Linked DNA regions of Homo sapiens: all the other regions are linked to region 1. Evidence: promoter capture Hi-C in human tissues and cell types (Jung and others, 2019). All regions are on one chromosome and are shown on one strand. Each heading gives the region's core, a stretch centred on a gene start or on the middle of the fragment in contact. The rest is flanking DNA. Distances are from core to core; before and after follow the strand shown. Region 1 holds the start of KCNA10 (potassium voltage-gated channel subfamily A member 10). Region 2 has its middle 24 kb from the start of KCNA3. Region 3 has its middle 12 kb from the start of RBM15. Region 4 has its middle 59 kb from the start of KCNA3.

Region 1 (2,926 bases), core at 360-2,859:
TGCTAGAGAAATGGGACTCTGGCTCATCCACCTCAGCAAAGTAGACTGCACTGGAGAAGAGGATGACTCCAATGAAGAGAAAGAAGATGAGCAACCCCAACTCCCGCATGGACGCCTTCAGTGTTTGCCCGAGGATCTGCAGCCCCTTGGAGTGGCGCGAGAGCTTGAAGATGCGGAAGACCCTCACCAGGCGGATGATCCTCAGGATGGCCAGGGACATGTTCTGTTGGGCACTCGGCTCTGTCTCCTGGACTAGCTCTGTGATGAGAGTTGCAAAGTAGGGGATAATGGAGATGATGTCAATGATGTTCATGATGTTCCTGAAGAAGTCAGTCTTGCTGGGGCAGACCACGAACCGGAGCACCAGCTCGAAGGTGAACCACACGATGCAGGTAGACTCCACCATGAAGAAAGGGTCGGTGAACATGGTCTGGGAGAGGACTGTCTTGCTCATGTTGAGATTGGGGTCTCTGACCACCTTTAGCTCCCTATCCTCCCGGAACTCTGGCAGTGTCTCCAGGCAGAAGATGGTGATGGAGATGACCACAACCAACACCGAGACCACGGCCACAGCACGGGCAGCGCTGGAACTTTCAGGGTACTCAAAGAGGAGCCAGAACTGACGGTGGATGTCATTGGTGGGTAGCAGTGTTTCAGGGTCTTTGATGAAGCCTTCATCCTCCCGGAACTGGTCCATGGCCTCACTACCCAGCTCATAGAAGGAGATTTCATCAGCAAAGATATCAATGGGAACATTGGCTGGGCGCCGAATTTTCCCACCAGATTGGTAATAATATAGGATTCCATCAAAACTGGGCCGGTTCCGATCAAAGAAATACTCATTTCTCATGGAGTCAAAGAACTGCATCCTTTTTTCCCGGTCTCCCAGGAGAGTCTCTGGGAACTGACTAAGGGTTCTGAGCTGGGTCTCAAATCTCAGCCCAGCAATGTTGATGATCACCCGCTGGTTTCCTTCATTTAGGACCACTGGCTCAGGCCCTGGGGGGTCAGCATAGTCTCCCGGAAGCTTGGAGAAGGCCGTCTCATGGTTGGTGCTTTCGCTGATGAGGATCTTCCCGTTGGAGAAGGAGCTGCCCCCAGGCCGGCCTTTTGGGCTGGTTGAGTCGAAGTCTGTGGCATAGCCTGGCTCTTCTTGGATTTCATCTGAATTATCAAAATTGACCAGCGCAACCTCCATTTCTTTCCAGCCACACACATCCATTCTAGGGGAGCCAGGGAAGAAGCATGAAGATCCTCAGCCTTCACTGCCTGCTGTGAGCTATGGAGAAGAAGAAGTTCATTATACAAGATCCAGGGCAGAATACAACTGGCCCTTGTTTATTGAGGTAAGGTACACCAATGGGCTAATCAATGACTTATTTGTAGCTTGGGAAGGAACGTCATGGTTATTTTGGCAGCATGCTTCCCTTAAAATCATTTTGTACCCCTGAGTTTGCATAAACTAATAACTAGGAGAAATTGCAAAAAAAGGATCCTGGCAAAGAAGGGGAGATTCTCCCCAGCAAAGGATGGTCTCCATATGTGATGGCAGAGGGGCCATACTAAAAGAGGAAGTTAACATTCCTTAATAATAAAAAGCATGATCTTGTATTTGCATGAAGCCTTCTGTCTCACCAAACACGTCTCCATGCCCAATCTCATTCGTAATGCCTCTCTTTCACACCAACAGCCAGTCCCTCACACATCCTTTTGGTCATGTCTTCAAAATATATCTAGAATTCAACCATTTTGCATCACTTCCACCCCTGCTTCTGGACCAAGTGGTGAAGGGTGGAACCAGATCTATGAACCCAATGGGGATTCTTTAGGGAAGGAAAAACAAGACGCTGGGTTGGCCAATCGACAATGTCCTCTAAATGACCCCTCACCTGGAAATAACTCCTAGAGTTGTTTTGAAGGTACCTCAAATGAGATAACACGTATGGAATGCTTGGTGGAAAGAAAGATCACTATATTATAGCTATTGTTTTTTGTCAACTTTCCCACATAACAAGCACTTTAGAAACTACCAGCAATTGGAATTTTTTTTGGCCTGAGTCCAAGGTGTCCATAGGAAGTAATTTCATTTTGAGAAATCATTTTAGGTGGGAAGGAAGTAAATAATTGTGTGTGTCTGTGTGTGTGTGTGTATATGTGTGTGTGTGTGTGTGTGTGTGCGCGCGCACGCTGGAGGTGGGGTTAGGAAATCATGCCCAGTGGGCTTGGACATCTATACACATAGACTAATATTTCTTTCCTCAGGTTCATTCTAGCTTCAGTTTCAATTTAAGAACACTGAACCCAGGCAGGCTGGGGGTGGGAGTGGGAGAGAAGTAAGGGACTTAACCTCAGGCAAAATCTGTAGTGGTCACAGCCTTGGAGAGGTTTCCTTTACAGGCGACAAGGCTATCCTGCAGTGTAGTGTTGTAGTCTTTTCAAAGTGATTCCACATTCACTTATCTCACTAGATGACAATAATCACGTGAGGTTAGATGTTATCTCTGTTTTGCAGATGCGGAAACCAAGTCACAGGGACAAAGTGACTTCCTAAGGTCACATAACTAGTGCTACAGAGTCCTGACCTAAACCTGGCCATGGCCTTCTGGCCCAGGGCCTTTCCCACTAGACCATGGAGTCCCTATATAGGAGCTGAGCCTTGTGGGGAGCTGTAGGCTAGGGCCACAGAATTGTCAGGGGTCCAGAGCTCTTTCCATCCCATGACCCCTTTTCTCAGTTCAGGTGCCATGTGTTGAATGATGAGCTCAAGTCTGGTTGGTCAGCACTGGTAGAGTACCCATTCTACCTCTCAGGAGTATGTGGCCATTGCAAACGGCCTAATTTCACGGAGCTGCTGCTTCCTCAGTTGTGGAATGAGGAAGGATGTACCCACTGCCAAGCATGCCAGGTGCCAGCCTGCTCTGCAAGG
Region 2 (3,150 bases), core at 570-3,069, 130 kb after region 1:
TTTAAAAAGTGATAAGAGAAAGAAAAGTCAGTGAAGGTGACTGAGAGAAAATGTCACAAAAGCCAAGAAGGAGGGAGGGATCAACAGTGTCAAATTCTACAGAGTTGGTGAGGTTGACAATTGATGTATGAGAAAGAAACTAGTATTAAGGAAATGTTCAGTGTAGAAGTGGAGACCAAAGCCAGATTACAGAGGAATAACACTGTAGCCGAAAGTCAAATAAATGAGGGGTCAGGAAGTAGAGACAACTTCTTATTAAGAAGTTTGGCTTTGAGTGGAAGGGGGCAAATAGAGCTAACAATGGTCAAGGAAACATATTCACCGATCATAGATTCTGAGGTGGGGACACACTGAGGATAAGGAAAAGGCAGATGTTATTTAATACAGTCAAGTTCTGGAGGAGGTTGAACAGGATGGACTGGAGCTCCAGAGATTGGGAAAACTTTTCCACTGAAGTGAGAAGGAGAAATACTCGAATATTTTTGAAAGAATAAATGAATAGACAAAGGGAATGATGGTTGACTCAGTCTGAAGAGCTTGGATTTTTATTTATCTTGGTGTCTCACTTTAAGGTAAGGGGATTGGATCTTGAGGCTTGCTGAGGCAGGACTAGGCTCGCCAATGTGAACAAAGTATAAGACAAATACAACGACAAGGGCTTTCTTCTGCTCTTCTTTAAGATTTTCTGATAATAATGCTCTCAGTTTCTTCACTTCTTAGGGAAGTCAGAATTTGAGATAAGTGGGGTGATGGGGGGGTGGAAATGTGACTATACAAAAAGAACTGCAGATGAGGAGGCAGAAAACCTTGTATTCTAGTCACTTTCTGACATTTACTGACCACATGACCTTAGGTAAATTGCATAACTGTGCATCCAGTTTCTTCTTTTATAAAAAGCATGTGATACTACCTTCTCTGCCTATTTCAGAGAATATATATACTTTATATATTTAAGTATATAGAGTTGCTTTGAACTATATATGCATAAAATATTGTAAATATTAGAAAGCACAGTACAGATATAATGCCCCATTAATGTATATTCCAGACATTCTGAGAATGTGGGTTGCCTCTGAGGGGTGCCCTGTAGAGCTGTCTAATCTTGTCTAACTATACATACATGTATGGCATGCCCCTGGAGTTCTGTTTGCTAGTTTTTTTCTTGGCTATTACACATGCTGAGAGCTTGGCCTGATAGTGCAGAGATTACTACTGGCGTGGAAAGTGCCTGCAGGGAGCAGCATATTAAAATCACAAATTCAATACTTTCTCGAGACTAGGACATACAAAGTTAAAATAGCCTTATAAATTGCCTCCAGGAATAAAGGCAAAAATTAACTCTACCTCAAAAATTTTCATCCACATTTATGAATGTCACTTTCCTCTCTCTTATTTCCATCTCTATTGCCACAAATTAAGACAAAACACAAACATTTTCCTCTGCAGAATTCCTCAGCTTCTCTATAGAGGTAAATGAAAACTAGACTTAAGATATATTTATCATCGATTATTCAGGATTCCAGATTCCTATTAGGCCCTCTGACTAACTTACATCATGCTGTCTCTGATTACTTTTAGATTCAGGTTATATGGAAACAACTGTCTGTTTTCATGGCTGGCATAATGGGTATAAACTAGTAATACATGGCATCTACATTGTAAAATTTAATGAATAGTGCCTATGAATCCATTTGTGTTCTTCACCTTCATTTAGAAGCATTTATTATGCCAAATCAAACCAGGCATGGGTGAGGGACTGTGCCACATTTATTCATTTCCTTGTCAATTGTGTGTTTTGAAATCAGATTTCTATTTGTTCCTTCTCTTGTGGCTCCATTTCCTAAAAAATTACTTCACTGACCTTACGTTTTAAGACAGTATTGTCCCTGGAATTTTAGCTCCTCATTTGGCTTTTCTAATTCAATGATATAGTCTCCTCCTCTATGACTCAAGTTACCAGATATCGCCAAATGTAAAAAGGATTTTCTGAAACAAAATAACCAATTTGATTGTGATTAATGAAACCTATAAACAGTAGATCTAAGGGAGAGAAAGTTACAAGATTTATAAGGGTTTTGGTACAAAGTACAGAAAAGTGAATGGACGATTGAGTGGGTCCTAACTCATAGGAGGTGTGCAGCAGTAATTGTGTACTAATTTGTCTCTGTTGAAATCCAGCAGAAAGGTGTGAATTCTTTTGGATAGAGGCATGGTTCAAAGACGATATAGGTAATCCCTTGGAAACAACCTGCATCTCTTAATTTACTCTGTGATTGTTTCCAAAAGACTTAAAGATTTGGTCCCTTAAAATGAAATACTTTAGGCCTGGCATGGTGGCTCATGCCTGTAATCCCAGCACTTTGGGAGGCTCCGGTGGGCGGATCACCTGAGGTCAGAAGATTGAGACCAGCCTGGCCAACATGGTAAAATCCCATCTCTACTAAATATACAAAAATTAGCTGGGTGTGGTGGCACATGCCTGCAGTCCCAGCTACTCGGAGGCTGAGGAAGGAGAATCGCTTGATCATGGGAGACGGAGGTTGCAGTGAGCCAAGATCATGCCACTGCACTCCAGCTTGGGCAACAGAGCAAGACTCTGTCTCAAAAAGAAAAAAACAAAACAAAACAAAACAAAACAAAAACTTTACAAATAGTCACTAATGGAGTTCACCACCAAAATTCTATGACAAGAAAGCTTAAAAAGTCATTTCTCATATCAATTGGAGGATTAGAAAAATATGTTTTGTTCTTGTCTCTAATAGCTAACACCACATGTGTAAAGCCATCTAAATCTACACTTAGTTTTTTTAGACAAAGTAAAATTCCAGATGGAAACAAGAGAGAGGGCCTCTGTTTTGGTGATGTATCATTTGTTGACATTCCAAAAGTAAAAACACGTTTGAGTAACTAGCTATTATTAGGAAAAAGAAAAAGAGTAAGGATCAATATTGCTAAGCACAAAATGAGAACAATTGGTATGTAAAATGTGAATGCTAGAAATTATCCAAGAGAGAGGGCCTCTGTTTTGGTGATGTATCATTTGTTGACATTCCAAAAGTAAAAACACGTTTGAGTAACTAGCTATTATTAGGAAAAAGAAAAAGAGTAAGGATCAATATTGTTAAGCACAAAATGAGAACAATTGGTATG
Region 3 (3,082 bases), core at 519-3,018, 170 kb before region 1:
GACAAGCATAAGTAAGAATATAGCAGCTTATGGATTGATGGGAAAGATAAGATGCAAACTGAAGCCTGGAATACTAGTAAAATGATTGGGTCAACAAAAATAGGGAATCCTGAAGGGTAGGCCAGTTTGAGGGGTGGAGAGTGGAAACAGATCATTTGGGGCACATTGATAGCAGTCATTTATTGACTGTCTACTTCAAGCCAAGGATTCTGCCAAGTACTGTACACACATTGTCTCATTTAAGTCTCACCACAGACCATAATTTGACAGTTTAGTGATAGAGCCACAGTTCTAACCAGGCCTTTGTCCCAGCTAAGGCTCTCTTGGTTACCGTACTCGTGGAGGCTAGGAATGAGATTAAAGCTGCAAACCTGAAAAAATGGGCAATGGATTTCAAACTATAGTTTATGAACATTGGCAGTACTTGGGAAATGTACAGGCCCTTGGTACCTCCCTAGACATTCTGGAATTTGTTAGGACCAGCATGACTTAGGAGTCTTTGTTCTTTTACAAACCCCTCAGGTAATTCTGATATATTCTGTGGTCAGTGGGCCATGTGTTGAGCAACACTGGCCCATAGAGAGTAGAGTACTAAGGTAAACTTAGGATAATGTCATATTTGAGGCATGGGAAGAGAAGATGGTGCTGGAAAAAAGCCTAGATAGGAAAAAAAGAATTGTGTTGTCTCAGAAACTGAGAGGAGCTTCTAGAAGATAACTTTAAAGCTGTTGCAGCAGGCAAGGAGAACAAAACTGCAATTGCCATGGAATTTATTACTTAAAATTGCCACTTAAGTAACATAACAGTTTTCTAGTCATGTAATTATTTCTCCAAGAAACTCAATCTAGATTACTATTTAATTTTGCCTCATAACAGTCCTGAAGATGGGCCACTGTTTTGTTTATGAAATGCTAAAGGGACACCAGAAAAGTTTTGTGACTAACTGAAGGATACACAGCCAGGAACTGATTGAGGTATCTTTGAGTTTTCAGATGTCTATCTAAAAATACTGTGACTATAGTCTTAAAATTGAAAGTGATGCTGGGATTGAGTGTGTACACATGAAACTTATTTCCATTAATGGACCATCACCTATATCTACTACTCCTAAGTTATCAATAGGATTGAGACAAAGGCATTATAGGTAAAGTTGAGTGTATCTTTGTCCTGTAAATGATTATTTTGAATTACAGTATCTATACTGCATTTGTGTTTGATAAGTATAGCCAATGAACTATTCAAATATTTGAGTACATATTATATATCAGACATTATTCTAGATCTTGGGAGTGTCTTTGTGAAAAAAAAAAAGAGACGTTTTTCTCTTTTCTTGTGGAGCTTACAGTCTGGTGGAAGAAAGGAGGTGGTAAGCTATAAATTAGGGCCTTTAGGCTCCAGACAAAGGGTTTGGATTGTATTCTAAGTGCTGATTGCTATGGGAAGACATTGTAGGTTTTTAAGCAGAGAGTGATGTGATTTGATCAATATTTGACTACCTGTCTGAGGAAAGTAATAAATTTCCTTCAAATGCCAAAGAAAATAAGTTACTTAGCATTTCACAGATTCTCTGTCAGATTGTAACTATGTTCCTGTTCAGAGATCAGCACTGTTCTTTTATTTAAATACAATAATAAAGATTTTATTTCTTTTTAGGGCTCATAGTTGTTGACCATTCTGAACTTTCAAAGCAGTCTCCCTTCTGAAGATGCCTCATTTTCTGAATGTGCTGCTTCATATTTTCTGCTTTCAATAAACTGTCATGACAGTTTCCACTGTAGTCATATATATGACTGATATAACACACTGACCATGCTTTCTATATTTCATAACTTGCAGTTTTTCTAGTGATATTTAACCAGACTCCCTTGCTAAAAAATAGTTTAGAGGGTCTTTTTGTGAAATGGCTGTTATCCTATGCAAATAAGATACATGTGTGTATACAGTTTTTAAGTGCTGAATTTATCTGACCTTTCTGAGGTAACCAGCAGATTCCTTTTTACCTAGGAAAAGGACTTAATGAAAAATTTTTATGCATAAGCCTAAGTCATTACACTAGTGTCTGCAATATAATTATTACAGGTAAAATTATTAACACTTTGGGATGCTGTATTCGTATATGTTTTTTATTACACAGTTTAAGACCTATTGGGAAAATTAATGTTTCATAAAATTGATTTTCATTTTAGCATATAGAAATTGACTATCAGAGGCCAGGCACAGTGGCTCACGCCTGTAATCCCAGCACTGTGGGAGGCCAAGGTGGTTGGATCATGAGGTCAGGAATTTGAGACCAGCTTGGCCAACATAGTAAAACGTGTCTCTACTAAAAATACAAAAAATTAGCCGGGCGTGGTGGCGCATGCCTGTAATCCCAGCTATTCGGGAGGCTGAGGCAGGAGAATTGCTTGAACCCGGGAGGTAGAGGTTGCAGTGAGCCGAGATCACACCATTGCACTCCAGCCCGGGTGACAGTGCGAGACTCCGTCTCAAAAAAAAAAAAAAAATTGCCTATCAGGCTGGGCGCTGAGTCTTGCACCTGTAATCCCAGCGCTTTGGGAGGCCGAGGTGGGAGGATTGCTTGAGCCCAGGAGTGCAAGACGTATCTCTTAAAAAAAAAAAAAAAAAAAAAAATTGAGTATCAATAGTTTTACCTAGCTCCCAAGATAAGTATCTTTCTTTCTTTCTTTTTTTGTGATGGAGTCTTGCACTGTCGCCCTGGCTGTAGTGCAATGGCGTGATCTTGGCTCACTGCAACCTCTGCCTCCTGGGTTCAAGCGATTCTCCTGCCTCAGCCTCCGGAGTAGCTGCAATTATAGGTGCCTGCCACCACACCCGGCTAATTTTTTGTATTTTTAGTAGTGTTGGGGTTTCACTCTGTTCACTAGGCTGGTCTTGAACTCCTGACCTCGTGATCTGCCCACCTTGGCCTCCCAAAGTGCTGGGATTACAGGCATGAGCCATCGCGCCCAGCCTACGATAAGTATCTTAATATATGCCATTTGTGTATATTTATGTACAGAAACACTTCAGTAAACTAGACCCCTTAATTGTAATTTTTCTGCATTCTATGGCAGAGGTCTCA
Region 4 (2,746 bases), core at 239-2,738, 220 kb after region 1:
GGAGACAGAAGCCATCTTTAGAAGATCCTTTTTACTGAAAGGTTTATGTGAGTTCATTTGTGATGGTCTGGAGTTGGAGCTATGACCCCAAGCCATAGCACAAAGAGGAGACTCTTCTTGCTTCCTTAAGGCTTCCAAAGTGACAGCAGAATTGGTAGCTGGGAAAGCAGGGAATCCTTGCATAGTGCCCCAGAGTGCCTGTCACACCTGGCCCAGCTTCCCAGTAAACCTATTGATGCCCTCTCATCTAGAGTCCCATCTAGACCAGGCATACTATCTCTGATAATAATAAAAAATACTCATTGTTGGCATGTGCTGTCTTAAGTATATTATCTCAGCTGACCCTCAAGGCATTCTACAAAGTAGATAATCCATTTTACAGATGAGGAAGTAGAAGCTTACAGAGGTTAATGTTCCTAAGGTCACATAATTCATATGTAGCATAACCAAGATTTGAATCCACACCTCTCTACAAGGCTCTACTTCATGAAGTTCTTCCAGTTCTTTCCTCAGTTATTCTCTAGACACCTCCTTCCCCTTTTCTCTTTCCAGCCTGATGAATAAATGCAGAGCAAGAGCTGTCATTGCTTCATCTTCCCAGGATCTTGGAATCACTTGCATAAGTCAAAGAGAAAGGTAGGATAGGCAGAGATAGTTAATTTTGCTTCAGTCTCCTTTCTAACCCCAAATTGTTCTTTCCAAGTATTTTATCGAGCCGCTGGGCTACCTCCTAGAGTGAGACCCTTCATGGCATCTCTCTGGCCTCTCTGTCAGCTTCTACTTCCATGCCCAGAACAGTCTCTCTTTGAAAGGTAATGGAGACAAAGCTTCAAAATAATTCTTCTGTAGATCTTTATATAAACATGTGTGAGGGCTTTTAAGAGGAGAGTTATGACTTCCAGCAAGAGTTTGACCTCCTTTCTTTCCTTTTCCTCCCAAGGTGGATACATCCCAGATACCAGACAAGTAGTTAGCTCATCTTTGGCTCATGAACCGCAATGGGGCTAGAAAGGATGTTATGTTTATCAACATGACCTCTATCCTTAAAATCCTGATTCTGTCCCCACCACCCCCCCTTTTTTTTGGCCTGGCTGTTCCGTTTTGAGAGCATCACTATTGGGTGTGGATGGGGAGGTGGAGAGGAGAAGGACTAGGTTACTGGCCCCTGATTCTCTAGGGCTGGTCTGGCCATGCTCAGAGGCATGGGAAGAATCAGGGACATTCAGAGAAATAAGGGCTCAGGCTAAAGAGCTGACAGCTGGGCTTGTGACTGATACAGCAGTAGCCCTGAGCGATGCCCCCATGGGAAGCCACTATCCTGTAGGGAAAGGGCCAGTCAGTTCTAAAATCAAAGCTAGATTTGTAGGCTGGAGCTGTGGGAGCCAGAGCCCTCTATGCCTGTGAGGCTGCCTGGAGCTCCATGATGTAAGTCAGAGTGAGAATGCCCTGCCAAGCCTTTTCAGGGAAGGATTGGCTCAGGGCCAAAGTTACCTCCCACCCCTCTCTCTGCCAGTTCTCCTCATCCATTTCCATGACTACGGAAAAGGGTAGAAATACACAGTCATTTGATCACCCTTCATCTCGCCACCCCAGATCATATCCAAAAGGAGCAGAGGAGGACACTGAGTGGGTGGGCAGTGCCAAGCAATTGGCTTTAGGCTACTGAAAACAGTGGCTCTGGGGGAGTGATGCTCCAGTCCCCTGCAGAGCTAGAGCCAGTCCCTGGTCCGTCCTCCATCTCCCCCTTCCCATGAATAATGTTTTGATGCTCTTCGTAGGTTCCACATTTCTGTGCTGTGACCTACGGTTCCCTGCATAGGACCCTGCAGCCCTCCTTCCAGCTGTCTTTAGCGCCTTGTTTTCCTTAGTCAAGTCCTGCTCCTGGGTAATGTTTGTTTGCAGCTGAGGGCTGCAGAGATGGTGAGATGGCCCCTTCTCTTGTGGGAAGGAAAGAGAAGGGCAGTTATTGACCAGGCAAAATGATGGTTTGTCCTTTGGCTTAACAAAGGGCAAGTGGCTGGGGTGGCAATGGGAGATCAGGAAGCATTTTCAGAGGGCGTGGGGAATGTATGGGCATGTGTTCCAGGGTACTTTGACAAGCAAGGTGTTATTGGTGCGGGGGACTGCAGAACTGTTAGCACTTAAAGTAGGAAGTAGCTGGGTACTATCTCCAGGAGAAGGAGCTGAAGTCTCTTGAAAACATCCTGGAGGACTTCTTGAGGGCTAAGCAGACATTGCTGCTGATGATGGTGATGATAATGATGATAACAAAATCTTCCTTCCAGGGGCCTACCGTATGTATACCTACTGTGTACTTTAAAACAGCTCTTCATTGGACCATTAGCAACTTGAAATCAGGATGTGGTCTCCATCTCTGTGTCCTCAGTGCCTAATCCTAAAAAGGTGGTCAGTAAATCCCATTTCTACACTCACCAAGCTTCTGCTCTGAGACTGACAGTGCTGGGTGCCGGGAGTTCAGGCATAAATGGAGCCCCATTCTCTGCCCTCAAGATGCCCAGAGTACCAGGGGGACACAAACATGAGAACAAAAACAAACAGTGCAGCTGAGAGATTGTAATGCAAACGAAGTACAGTGGGGCCCCAACTCTGTCCTGGGCTGAGGAGGGGCTTTGGAGAGTGGTCACTGCAGAGCTGGGTCTCAAAGGATGTTCGTTGGCTTCAACTGAGGATGACAGGCAGGGAGCAGTGGTCTAGGCTGGCTGTGGAAAGCTGACTCTGCCCAGCT

Evidence for each region. Contacts are between HindIII fragments. The study calls those that stand out against the background at their distance.
Region 2: a fragment that was not itself captured here is called in contact with the fragment with the promoter of KCNA10 in region 1 in 2 of the 25 tissues and cell types used here (ovary and thymus).
Region 3: a contact is called between a fragment that was not itself captured here and the fragment with the promoter of KCNA10 in region 1, in 2 of the 25 tissues and cell types used here (hippocampus and stomach).
Region 4: a contact is called between a fragment that was not itself captured here and the fragment with the promoter of KCNA10 in region 1, in 2 of the 25 tissues and cell types used here (dorsolateral prefrontal cortex and spleen).

Annotation. Positions count from the first base shown.
Region 1 is chr1:110,517,566-110,520,491 of GRCh38, forward strand. It overlaps KCNA10 (potassium voltage-gated channel subfamily A member 10), which reads right to left and starts at 1,610. Exons shown (of 1, transcript NM_005549.2): 1 at 1-1,610. The coding sequence starts at 1,222. The HindIII fragment of the contact is 7,025 bases long and covers 1-2,926 here.
Region 2 is chr1:110,649,654-110,652,803 of GRCh38, forward strand. No RefSeq gene overlaps it. Among named protein-coding and RNA genes, the nearest start is that of KCNA3, 24 kb to the right of the region's middle. The HindIII fragment of the contact is 3,152 bases long and covers 244-3,150 here.
Region 3 is chr1:110,350,315-110,353,396 of GRCh38, forward strand. No RefSeq gene overlaps it. Among named protein-coding and RNA genes, the nearest start is that of RBM15, 12 kb to the left of the region's middle. The HindIII fragment of the contact is 6,528 bases long and covers 1-3,082 here.
Region 4 is chr1:110,732,879-110,735,624 of GRCh38, forward strand. No RefSeq gene overlaps it. Among named protein-coding and RNA genes, the nearest start is that of KCNA3, 59 kb to the left of the region's middle. The HindIII fragment of the contact is 4,663 bases long and covers 1-2,746 here.